Linked DNA regions of Homo sapiens: region 1 is linked to region 2. The links are contacts of gene promoters, found by promoter capture Hi-C in human tissues and cell types (Jung and others, 2019). All regions are on one chromosome and are shown on one strand. The core of a region is centred on a gene start or on the middle of the fragment in contact, and the rest is flanking DNA. Distances in the headings are between cores, read along the strand shown. Region 1 holds the start of HSPB6 (heat shock protein family B (small) member 6). Region 2 holds the start of HPN (hepsin).

The links. Contacts are between HindIII fragments. The study calls those that stand out against the background at their distance.
Region 1: the fragment with the promoter of HSPB6 here is called in contact with the fragment with the promoter of HPN in region 2 in 1 of the 25 tissues and cell types used here (spleen).

What each region holds. Positions count from the first base shown.
Region 1 is chr19:35,754,712-35,759,987 of GRCh38, reverse strand. It overlaps HSPB6 (heat shock protein family B (small) member 6), which reads left to right and starts at 2,959. Exons shown (of 3, transcript NM_144617.3): 1 at 2,959-3,177; 2 at 4,094-4,216; 3 at 4,305-5,276. The coding sequence starts at 2,980. The coding sequence ends at 4,466. It overlaps PROSER3 (proline and serine rich 3), which reads right to left and starts at 1,812. Exons shown (of 11, transcript NM_001367856.1): 1 at 1,762-1,812; 2 at 518-614; 3 at 1-199. The coding sequence starts at 1,772. RefSeq lists enhancers at 1,468-1,527, 1,568-1,807, 2,136-2,707. The HindIII fragment of the contact is 17,144 bases long and covers 1-5,276 here.
Region 2 is chr19:35,040,471-35,045,975 of GRCh38, reverse strand. It overlaps HPN (hepsin), which reads right to left and starts at 4,255. Exons shown (of 13, transcript NM_001384133.1): 1 at 4,104-4,255; 2 at 3,454-3,523. The coding sequence starts at 3,469. RefSeq lists an enhancer at 4,784-5,505. The HindIII fragment of the contact is 10,578 bases long and covers 1-5,505 here.

The sequences.
Region 1 (5,276 bases), core at 1,710-4,209, 720 kb before region 2:
CCACCACGGAGTCCCCGCTGTCAATCAGGGTGGGTGCTGGGGAGGCCCACATCTGTCCCTCAGTGGTGCTGGGCAGGGAGGGGGTCCCTGAACTGGATGGCCAGGACTCCTCAAACAGCTCAGGGGAGTTGGGACCTGTGGCTAGAGCCTTGGGAGCTTGTGGGAGCCTGGATCTCTGAGACCTGGATGGGCTCAGGGTCTAAGATCAGGGAAGAGCACAAGAAGAAAAAGTGTGAGGTCTCATGGGTCATCCCTGCAGGGGAACCAGGACACACACAAAGTCTCAGTCCAGAGGGGAGGAAACACATCCTGTAATGATAACAACCTAGTGTGATGGGGGCTCAGATGGGGAATCCAGGTGGTAGAGAGGGGGACAAGGGCAGGGCCGTGGGGAGGGGACAAGGGGCTGTCTCTTAAATCTCTCATCCCTATCTCTCATCACATGTCTTCCTACCCTCTAAAGGTCATTCTCTTGCTACTGGGCTGGCACTCAGCACTCTTTGAGGGGTGTCCTCACCTTGGGACACCAGGTCTGGCTCTGGGATGGCCAGTAGTGGCTTCGACCCAGGGGCGCATCTCCAAAGGGACTATCTTGAATGGAGAAAACTGGCAGGCTGCAAGAGGAAAGTGGGGTTCAGGCAGCACGTGGTTTCGCCGCAGCCCTGGGGAGGGGGACATTAGAGGAGGGCAGAACCAGACAATTCCCATAGATTCCTGGAGGAGACGGACTGTCATTTCCATGAAGCACCGTTGCACATTCAGGATATCGACAGTGGAAGGGTGAGTCCTGGGAGCCCGCCCCTGGAGCAGTCTTAACAGGGAGCAACTCAGGAACTGACAGCCGGTGGTTCTCAACCCTGGATCCAGTCTAGGAGGGGCTTTTCAACGTTACAGGCGCGCGGTTCCCATTCCAGACCAACAGAATCAGAATATCTATTAGTGGGGCTGGGCCTCCGTGTCTTTTCCGCAGCGTCCCAGGTGATTGCGAAGTGGAGTTCAGGTTAAGAATCGCGGCTCGCCGGGCGTGGTGGCTCACGCCTGTAATCCCAGCACTTTGGGATTACACCGAGGCGGGTGGATCACTTGAGGTCAGGTGTTCGAGACCAGCCTTACTAACATGGCGAAACCCCGTCTCTACTAAAAATATAAAAAATTAGCCAGGCGCGGTGGCAGGTGCCTGTAGTCCCAGCTACCTGGGAGGCTGAGGCATGAGAATTGCTTTAACCCGGGGGCAGAGGTTGCAGTAGCCAAGATTGTGCCACTGCACTCCAGTCTGGGCCAACAGAGCGAGAGACTCTGTCTTAAAAAAAAAGAAAGAAAGAAAGAACCGCGGCTGGATTATATCACCGAGCATTTCCCATACATTCCTGGGGGACACGAAGGCAAAGGGTAGATGGACTACAAGCCCCAGGATCCACTGGGCTCCGCCTCCGCGAGAAAGTTCAAAGACAACGCCCAGGCGTGTCTGGGGGCCATTTCAAAATGAAGAAATTCAGATCTCAAGCCTTTCTTGGACACCTTTAGAGGCAATAATTCCTTGGGGCCCACTCAGAGAGGAACATAAGACTCTTAGGGGACCCCCGGGATGCTAACGGCTACGGCTGGAGAGGCCAACGGCTGTGGAGCATGTTGGGAATTGTAGTTCCAGTGCGGTGGAGCCCTAGCGACTCCAGACCGTATCCAGCCCGTCCTAGGCTGTGCTGCTCTCGCCGTTGGTCCTCCCCAGCCTCCTGTAGTCCCTGGAAGAGCGATCGGCCTCACCTGCGGTCCATCCCGCGGCTCCCTCCGCGCTTCCGGCCGCTCTGCTCCTTCACCCAACAGGCCCCGCGCGCATCTCCGTCGCTTAGCAACGCCCTATCAGCCCCGCCCCTCTCTGTGCCCGCGCCGGAGGCGAGCGGCCTCCAAGGCGACCAATGAAAGAGAGGAAACAGAAGTACCCGGAGGGAGGTGTTTCAGGATTGGCTGGGACGACTGCCTGCCCGACAGGGCGTGTTTGATTGGAGAACCTGCCGAGTGTAGCAGTAATTGGCAAGACCGTGCACCAATGGGAAGGATCTGAGGCTGGGCTTGCGGTTAGGAGGTGATCTAAAGTACCCTCGCTTAAAAGTCCCGCTTTTTAAGCGCCTTCTTGCTGCAGAAGTCCTGTCCCGACCCCGGTCTAACTACCATTCTTTCTGTTGCAGGGGCAGTGGGGCGGGTTGGGGGGGGGGCGCGCTCTGCCCTCTCTCTAACCGCTATTCCTCCATCAGTTGGGCCAATCAGTCCGTCCCAACGGTCATCTAACTTCTTTCTTGCTGCAGGAGCAGCTGGTTGCATCAGTTGCCAGGTCTGGGCTCCTGGCCGAGGTAGCGGGATCAAAATGAGCTATTTCCAGCCCCAGCGCGCGGCCCCCGGGGGGCCAGCCTGAACTGTTCATGCTCGCGCCCCCTGGCCTCTGCGCACCAGAGGCTGAGTCAGAGGCACAGAATTAGGCCCGGCCTGCCGGGGGACTGGGCCCAAGGTCTGGCTGAGGATAAGGGTAGGGAGGGCCTGTTCTATGTCCTCCTGACATCCTGGCGGGGCTACCGCATTCTCCAGGAATCTGCTCCTAAAGACCTCCATCTGCGTCATCCTCAGAGCTGCCAGGGGGGAGGCAGTGGATTAAAGGGACTGGAAACTCTTCCGTGGGCCTCTTGGGTCCTGGGCCCCAATCACCACGCTGTGCTCCCCACACCCGCAAGGCTCCCCCTCCTCAGCCTTAGTTTCCTCTTCTGGAAATTGGGGAATCTTCATGTCACCTTCTTGACAGCATTTGCCAGGCATCCAGCAGGCGCTTAATAAATGGCCAAGTCATTGTTTGGGTTTCTAAATAAGGCTCTCCTAATGGCCGGGTCTGGCCACGGTCCCAGTGTCCCTGGGCAGCCCTCCGAGGGGCCGGCACAGGGCGCACTATAAATGAGCGGCTGCGCACGCAGGGGCACTGCAACGCGGAGGAGCAGGATGGAGATCCCTGTGCCTGTGCAGCCGTCTTGGCTGCGCCGCGCCTCGGCCCCGTTGCCCGGACTTTCGGCGCCCGGACGCCTCTTTGACCAGCGCTTCGGCGAGGGGCTGCTGGAGGCCGAGCTGGCTGCGCTCTGCCCCACCACGCTCGCCCCCTACTACCTGCGCGCACCCAGCGTGGCGCTGCCCGTCGCCCAGGTGCCAGGCCTGGGGAGGGGTGAACTCGACCACTTCCATTGCCAGGGGTCTGGGGCAGCCTGGGGTGGGAACATGTGAGAGAATGTTCGTTGGCCTTGGGCGGGGTGGAGAGTCCGCAGCTCCGAAGGGCTTCCGGAGTCAATGGGAATCTGAGGCCCGCACACTGCAGCGGGTGGGAGGTCCCCGTCGCTCTTAGGTGGGGGGCGGGGTGGGGGGCTCTCAGCTCTCCAGAGAATGGAAGGCCTGGGTCACTCTAAGGGGAGTCTTGCTTACTCTGAAGGAGGCTGGTGATCCGGGAAATCTGGGGAAAAGGAGGCGGGCAGTGACTCCTGAGGGGAAGGAATGTTCTTAGTCTCGGGGAAGAGTTGAGAGACTGTGTGCGGTGGCCCGATATCTCCAGAAGAGGAGGGGAGAGGGCCCTGCGACTTGAGGAAGGGTTCCCGGCCACTCTGAAGTGGGGGAAGGCTACCAGTAGCTGCCGAGGTCCCGTGACTCGAGTGGGAGAGTAGGCAGAGGACCCTGGAGACGGGGAAAGGGGCATCTTGGCGAGTTTGGCGGGGCTGGCGGAGAAGGGACCCGGGGCTCTGAGGAGGGAGCTGGGGAATCAGTGCCCTGGGGGGCACGATGACTTCGGATTCGCTGACACCGGGGGAGGGCAGAGGTTCCTGACCTTGCAGGGGAAGGGAGCCTCATCACTGCGGGGGAGAGGGCAATCCCAGATATTACAGGGGGAGGGCGTATCCCTGTTGTTCAGGGTGAAGAGGTCCTGGGTGACTCCCAGTAGGAGAGCTGACTGCTCAACTCCGGAGGCCAGAGTGAGCCGCGGCACGGAACCGACGGGGGTGGGGTCTCCCTGGGTGGGTCCTGGAGCCTGGCCCAGCCCAATGACAGTCCCGCCCGCGCCCGCTGCGCTCAGGTGCCGACGGACCCCGGCCACTTTTCGGTGCTGCTAGACGTGAAGCACTTCTCGCCGGAGGAAATTGCTGTCAAGGTGGTGGGCGAACACGTGGAGGTGCACGCGCGCCACGAGGAGCGCCCGGTGAGCCGCGGCGTGGGGCGGGGCTGGAGCGGGTACGCTCGCCGCCGGGCCGGAGGGGCGGGGCCGCTCAAGCCTCCCTCCCCTCCAGGATGAGCACGGATTCGTCGCGCGCGAGTTCCACCGTCGCTACCGCCTGCCGCCTGGCGTGGATCCGGCTGCCGTGACGTCCGCGCTGTCCCCCGAGGGCGTCCTGTCCATCCAGGCCGCACCAGCGTCGGCCCAGGCCCCACCGCCAGCCGCAGCCAAGTAGGAGGGGGCTGGGCCGCGCCCGCACCCCGGGAGCCTCCTCAGGCTCCCTCTATTAAAGCCGATCTGACTCCGCCCAGCCAGATGTCCCGAGTGCGCCAAGGACTGTCCTCTCACCCACTCCTGGATTCTGCCCTGACCTCCATCCTGGACACTGCCTTGATAACATAGACCCTTCCACTGACACCCTCGCTCTCACACCCCCTCCAGCTTTCCGACCCCACACCGACAACTCCCCGGCTTCCAGACCCTACCAGCACTACCCTAACCCTCAGCCGACAGTCTCAGCCCCACCGACCCACTTTCTTGGCATATAGCCCCACTTAAGACCCCTCCTCTACTTCCTTCTGAGTCCTCTACAAAGACATCCGGGTACTACATTTCCATCCCTTCCCTATTTTGACACCAAATTATGGTGTAGACAGCCCTCCCCCAACCCCAGGCCAGTCAGGCACAATCCCCCCACCCCCCAAACGTCCTGGACTGCACAGACCTCCCACTCCAGACCATCCAGGCCTGGTTCCCAAGACCCGATCCTTCCCCTGCAACCAGACAGTCTACAACTGCCCCCTCCAGCCCATTTTCTGCCGTGAAACCCCAGCCAGCCACACCAGACTCTGGAACCCTTTTTCGACTGCCCCAACTCTTGGACACCAGGCCAACTAGAACACCCAACACCAAACTGTACAGACTCTCCCACCCCAACCTCCCCAGACTCTGCACGGATGTCCTAGGCCCCCTCCCCAACTCTAACCAGACCCCATCCCCCTAAGTCCCTTTGTCTTGACCCCCAAGTCTTCAACCAGATATCCTC
Region 2 (5,505 bases), core at 3,006-5,505:
TGGCACATCTGGTGGGACAGGAAGCAATGCCACTATGTATGTGTCTCCTAGGGTGAGAGGAAGAACCTCCTTCCATGCTGTGTGGTTCAGAGGACTTCAGCGCCTCCAGTGGGACAGGAAGCATCTGCATCCTGGGGTTCCCCCAGTATGAGAGGCATCCTCCCTGCATGTCTCTACTGGGACAGGCAGCATCCTCATCTGGCCCACGGTGTGGGACGCATCCTCATCCTCCCTGCGTGTCTCTACTGGGACAGGCAGCATCCTCATCTGGCCCAGGGTGTGGGACGCATCCTCATCCTCCCTGCGTGTCTCTACTGGGACAGGCGGCACGTCAACATCAATTCTTTGATCCCAGCAGCAGGGCTATTTCCCTTGGTAAGCCAGACCTCCCCCACCCCTACATCTCCCTGAGACTCTCTGCCCCTGCTTCTCCAGGCCCCTCTGGATGCCTTGGGTCTTCTCATAGGTCAGTTCTTCCGCCTCCACCATTTGGCTGCAAAGACCCCCACGCGTAACACCTTTGGCTCTCTGGCTCTGAAAATCCACTCAACTGGTGGCTCCGTGTCTCGGGCCTCATCTTACATGACTGCAGCTTCCTGTATAAATGCTCTCCTCTTTGGACTTCTGGGACACCAGGCGCACCTGATTTTCCTTCCCGCCTCTGAGGCTGCTGTCTTCACCCACCCTCTACCTACTCCGTAAAATCCAGAGTTTGTAGGGCTGGCCGCAGCCTCCCCCTGCTCCTCCTTGCCCCTAAGTCTGTCTCACCCACCTCTGTGGACTCAGTTTCCCCTCTGTCCCCAGCCCTAGACCCTCTTCCAGGTCCCAGGTCAGGGCTCCTGCAGTCCTTTAAATACCTTTTAAATACCTTTCCCTGGGACCTCCTAGTCCCTTTGCCCCTACCAGGTCCCAGAATGTCTCCCCAATGTCTCCCCAAGTATATTCTTCCTCCCGGTCCTGTCTCAGAGGCCCTCACTCCTAGGACCATCCCCATCTGCATAACATTCCCCTCCCCCGACAGCCTGCCAATCCTCCTGAGTGACTCTCCTTCCCCCGTTTCCTTCTTTCTCTCCATCTGCACCTTGCTCCGGCCCCATCCAACCGCTGGGCTCAGTCTCCCTTCTAGCGCACCCTCCACACGGAGGCTTGGGGAACCTACTGAGACACCAAATCCAACCTGTCCCCTCTTTACCTATAGAACCCTCTGTGACTCCCTAGTACCCCCCAGACAGCTTAAGTCCCTCAGCCTGGCATTTCCAGCCCCACTAGGGTATAAGCATGGCTTTCAGAGATTTGGGAGTATGTTTCCCCCAATTCTCAGACAACCATGTGGGTCACTATCAGGTACCAGAGAGAGCTTCCAAAAAGCAACCCAAACAGTAGAACTTGTAAAATACAAGTTAGACAAGAGAAGCAGGGACTAACCACTGGCGCCACCTTGTGGAGAGACCTGGTACTGCAAGGAATTGGCCAGCTCTTCCCCAAAACAGTCCCACCCCTGCCTGGTCCAGCTTGCACACCTCTTCTCCCACCCAGCTCAACTTCCAGCTTCACCTCCAGAAATACCACAATTGGCTACGTGCACACCAGTGCTGTGTCACCTCCCAGCTTCCCAGAGAAGAGCAAGAGCCTTGCTCTTCCCTCTGCCTGGCATCCTTGGAATTGCAACTCCAGTATCACCTCCTCCAATTCCAAGTTTCCAGGCAGCACCAAGAAGCCAGCAGCAATAACAGTGACACCAACAACAGCAGCCGCTGCAGCCACAACGGCTCTCTGAATCACACACGGACGCACCGCCCTACCCTAACCCCGTCCAGTCCTGCACAGCATCCTTACTTAAATCCTTGCAGCTGTTCACGAGGAAGGCGCCATTGCCATCACCCCCAGTTTACAGATGAGAAAAGGAGGCCCAAAGTCCGGCAGCCACCAAACCCGGGTCACCCGGCAAGTAAGTGCAGAATCGGAACCCTTCAGCATCTGTGTCCAGGTTCGACCTCCACACCCCTAGCCCTGACAGCAGGACTCCCCTCCAAGACCAGCCCGGAGCTGCCAGGGAGGCACCAGAGCCCACTTTGTGTCTGTTTCTCTTTGTACCCAGGCCATCTCTGTCCATTCGGGCATTTTCTGCTTTTCTTCCCTGGCTCATTCACCCATGGGCCCAAGCCCTGGGGCTGTCCTTCCGGCAGCTCCAGGAAAGAGATTGTCCCCAAGGAGCTGGATTCTGTCATCCACCTGCTCGGCTAGGGTGCAATGCCTTCTCCTGAGTAACTGGGAGCCTGGGTTCCCTCTGGACTGCAGCTGATTGGTTTGGGGTCTGAATTGCCAGCTGTGCCGAGACCCGAGGAGGCCAGAGATCTGAACTAATCATTTCAGCCAACACGCTCAGTGCTTCCTGCCCATCCTGGCATTTCAGGCCTCGCCCCACGCTGTTGGACATGCACTGTCACCCTCTCCATTTCACAGATGAGAGAATGGAGGCCCAGGGAGAACACGCCGTCTGCCCAGGGCCACACAGCTAGAAAGTGCTACTGCCCAGGACTGAGCCCGGCTATCCTGGTTGCGGAAGAAGAGAGGGAGTCAGCCCCAGCTAGGGGAAGGCAGAAAGAACAGGACGCCCCTCCATGCGCCCCTCCAGCTGGGTCCCATGTGTGAGAGGTAGAAAGGAAGCCAGGCTAGCTGGGGGCTGCCCAGAGACTCCCAAGGGCCAGCAACTCCATGACGCAGTCTCTCTCTCTCATCCTTATGGTGGTTTCTCTGCCGTCTCTCCCCTCTCCATCCATCCAGGCCCAGTCCAAAGTCCTCCCTCTGCTCTTTTGCCCACAGAGCCAGGAGGTGGAGGAATGTCTGGGATCGGTGGGGGTCCTGGGTCTCTGGGACTCCGAGTTTGCCAACCTCTGTCATGACAGCTCTGCTTGATGGCATGCGTCTTATATGCAGAGCCCCAGACCAGTGCCTGGTGTGTGTCATGCACTCAGCAACCTCACAGAGGGAGGACTGGTATCCATGCTTGACCCAGAGGGAGACCAAAGCCCTAAGAATAATGTCACTTGCACCAGATCACACAGCAAAAAAGATGGCAAGAGCAAATTCAAATGCAAGCCTGTGTGTTTCACTCCAAATCTGTGTCCTTAACCATGACAGCTACAGCTTCCCCGCCTCAGCCCCAGCAGAGGACAAGTCCAGAGTTAGCTGAGAAATCACTGGGGGATGAGGGGAAACTGAGGCAGCACGCCAGGAAGGTCACATAGGGTAGAAGGGAGGCTGGTGGTGGCACAGCTGCACAGAAAATGTGGTTAATAGTTAATCAGGTGGAGGAGGACTAACAGGGGTGGGGATGCATCTGGGAGGGGTGCCCAGAGAGAGGGGGCTCCGAAGAGTAGAGGGTAGAGAAAAGAGCACAGAGGGCGGGGCGCCAGGCAGAGCCAAAGCTGGGGCTCAGGGAAGGGGACTCACCCTCCTTCTGCGCCATGTCACTGCCTCTTGTTAATGATTCCCTGGCTGACCTCCTGGGCCAGGGTGGGACCTGTGAGGAGATGGACGGGGAGGCAGGGCCTGGGGGAGCCCAGCCCAGCCCAGTCCTGGCGCCCCCAGTCCCAGGCGTCCATCCAGGCAGGCTGTAGGGACTGGGCCTTGGCCAGAGCACGCCGTGATCACGGACGCAGATTGGGCTGGGTTCAAGGATGGGGTCAGTGTCTGACCAGCAGCGGGGGGACGCCTGGATTTGCAGGGATGGGGACCCCCATGCCTGAGCCTGGTGGAGCAGGGGACTGAGGATCCCGGTTTGAGGGAGGAGACAGCTGAGGACCTGAAATCATAAGTCTTGGGAAAGGAGGAATTTGGGGGCCAGGACTCCCTAGTATGAGGGAGGAGGGGCCTGAGGGCTGGAACTCCTGGGTCTGGGGAGGAAAGGACTGGGGTCCAACGGCTGAGTCTGAAGGAAGAGCAGGACAGAACACCTAGGTGCTTGGGGGGACGTCATAGTGCCCCCTCTTCAGGTCCCCAGGAACCCCTCTATTAGGAGGTGGGCATTAGGCTGGGTGGGGGGATGAGGGAACCCCTGTCCTCAGGGCTGGAACTGTGAGTCTGGGGGCCCTTGTCCTTACCCTGGGGTCCAGCAGGTGGGGGCGGAGCCTCGAGGTAGTGCCGGGGTCGGGTCAGTCTCCAGGCCTGGGCAGGAGCATGGTGGCCCCGCAGCAGCGGGCGGCCTGGAGGCAGAGGCGGTGGCGTGGGGCCTGCTAGGCCAGGCTGCCTCACCTGAGGAGGAGGGGGCTGGGCGAGGGGCGGGTGAAGGGGCGGGGAGGGGCCGGACCATTCGATTGGCAGCACTGGAGGCCACCTGGCTGATGGGGCCGGGCTTGTGGGGGCTGGACCAGGCGGGCCCAGCTACGGGGCTTGCCTTGGACCTCCAGGGGGACCCAGGTGTGCCTGTCTGCGGGGATGTGGGAACAGGGACAGGCCTGGCCGGAGGCTGGGGGTTTAGGGAGAAAGTGCAGGCTGAAGGGTGGGGGTCTGACCAGAAGAGATCAGATGGAGGGCCCCAGCTGCCCTAAGCCCACTCCACCCTCACCCAGCGAACCCTTCCCCCCGCCCTTTCTGCGTCCTCCAGCCCCAGGTCCTGGCTGTGCCCGCCACTTGCTGCACCTCTGCCTAATTCCCTGCCCAATTCCTGGGCCCCAACCCCAGCCCCAGCCTCTCCCGCCTGCCCTGCTCATCCTGCCCCGGCCCCTCCCCCGCTGGCTTCCTACAAGTCACGGGGCTGGTTTGCTTTGGCAGCCTCCGCCCGGCCGCGGTGACCTCTGGAGCCAGAAAGTCCTAGCACTAGATAGGGGGGATGGGGGGCTTGGCCGGGAAAACACAGCGCTAAGGGCAGAGGCCCAGGCCAAGTGGCCGGAAGCGTCCGCAGGCAGATAACACACTGTCCCGCCAGCAGCCAGGCGCGGCCCACGTCAGACCCAGGGCCAGGTAAACACCAGACGTGCAGGGTCACCGCCAGACACCTGCCCGTGCTCAACCACACGCCGGACACAGTCGGCCTCGGCTGCTTGCCCCAGATAGGCCACCCGCACAACCGGCCCCACCCGCTTACCCACACGTGCCCGCTGTGCCCAGCCAAACCCACCTCCACCGCACCCATTTCCTCCACTCAGCCCAGGGCCCCTCATTGGGACACGCTGGTTTAGCCTGGCTTCCTCTGCCTTTCCATCCATACCCGTCTCTCCTTCCCTCTCCTTCTCCCCAGCGCCCACCTCTCCAGAGACTCACACTGCTGGGCACACCACACACCCCATGCCACCCCTGCACCCCAGCATCAGCCTCGATTCTCTTCCCTCCACGGCACCCCCTCCCTTCCTGGCTCCGTTCCACTCTCCCTCACCCCTGAGCCCATGGCTCCCCCAACCCCGACACAGATCAGGCACTAAGTGGCTTCACCTGTGGGCCCTCAGGTAGGGTCCCTGGAAAGCGGGCTCGAAGATTCGGGGACGGGAATGGGGGGAAGGTGACGGG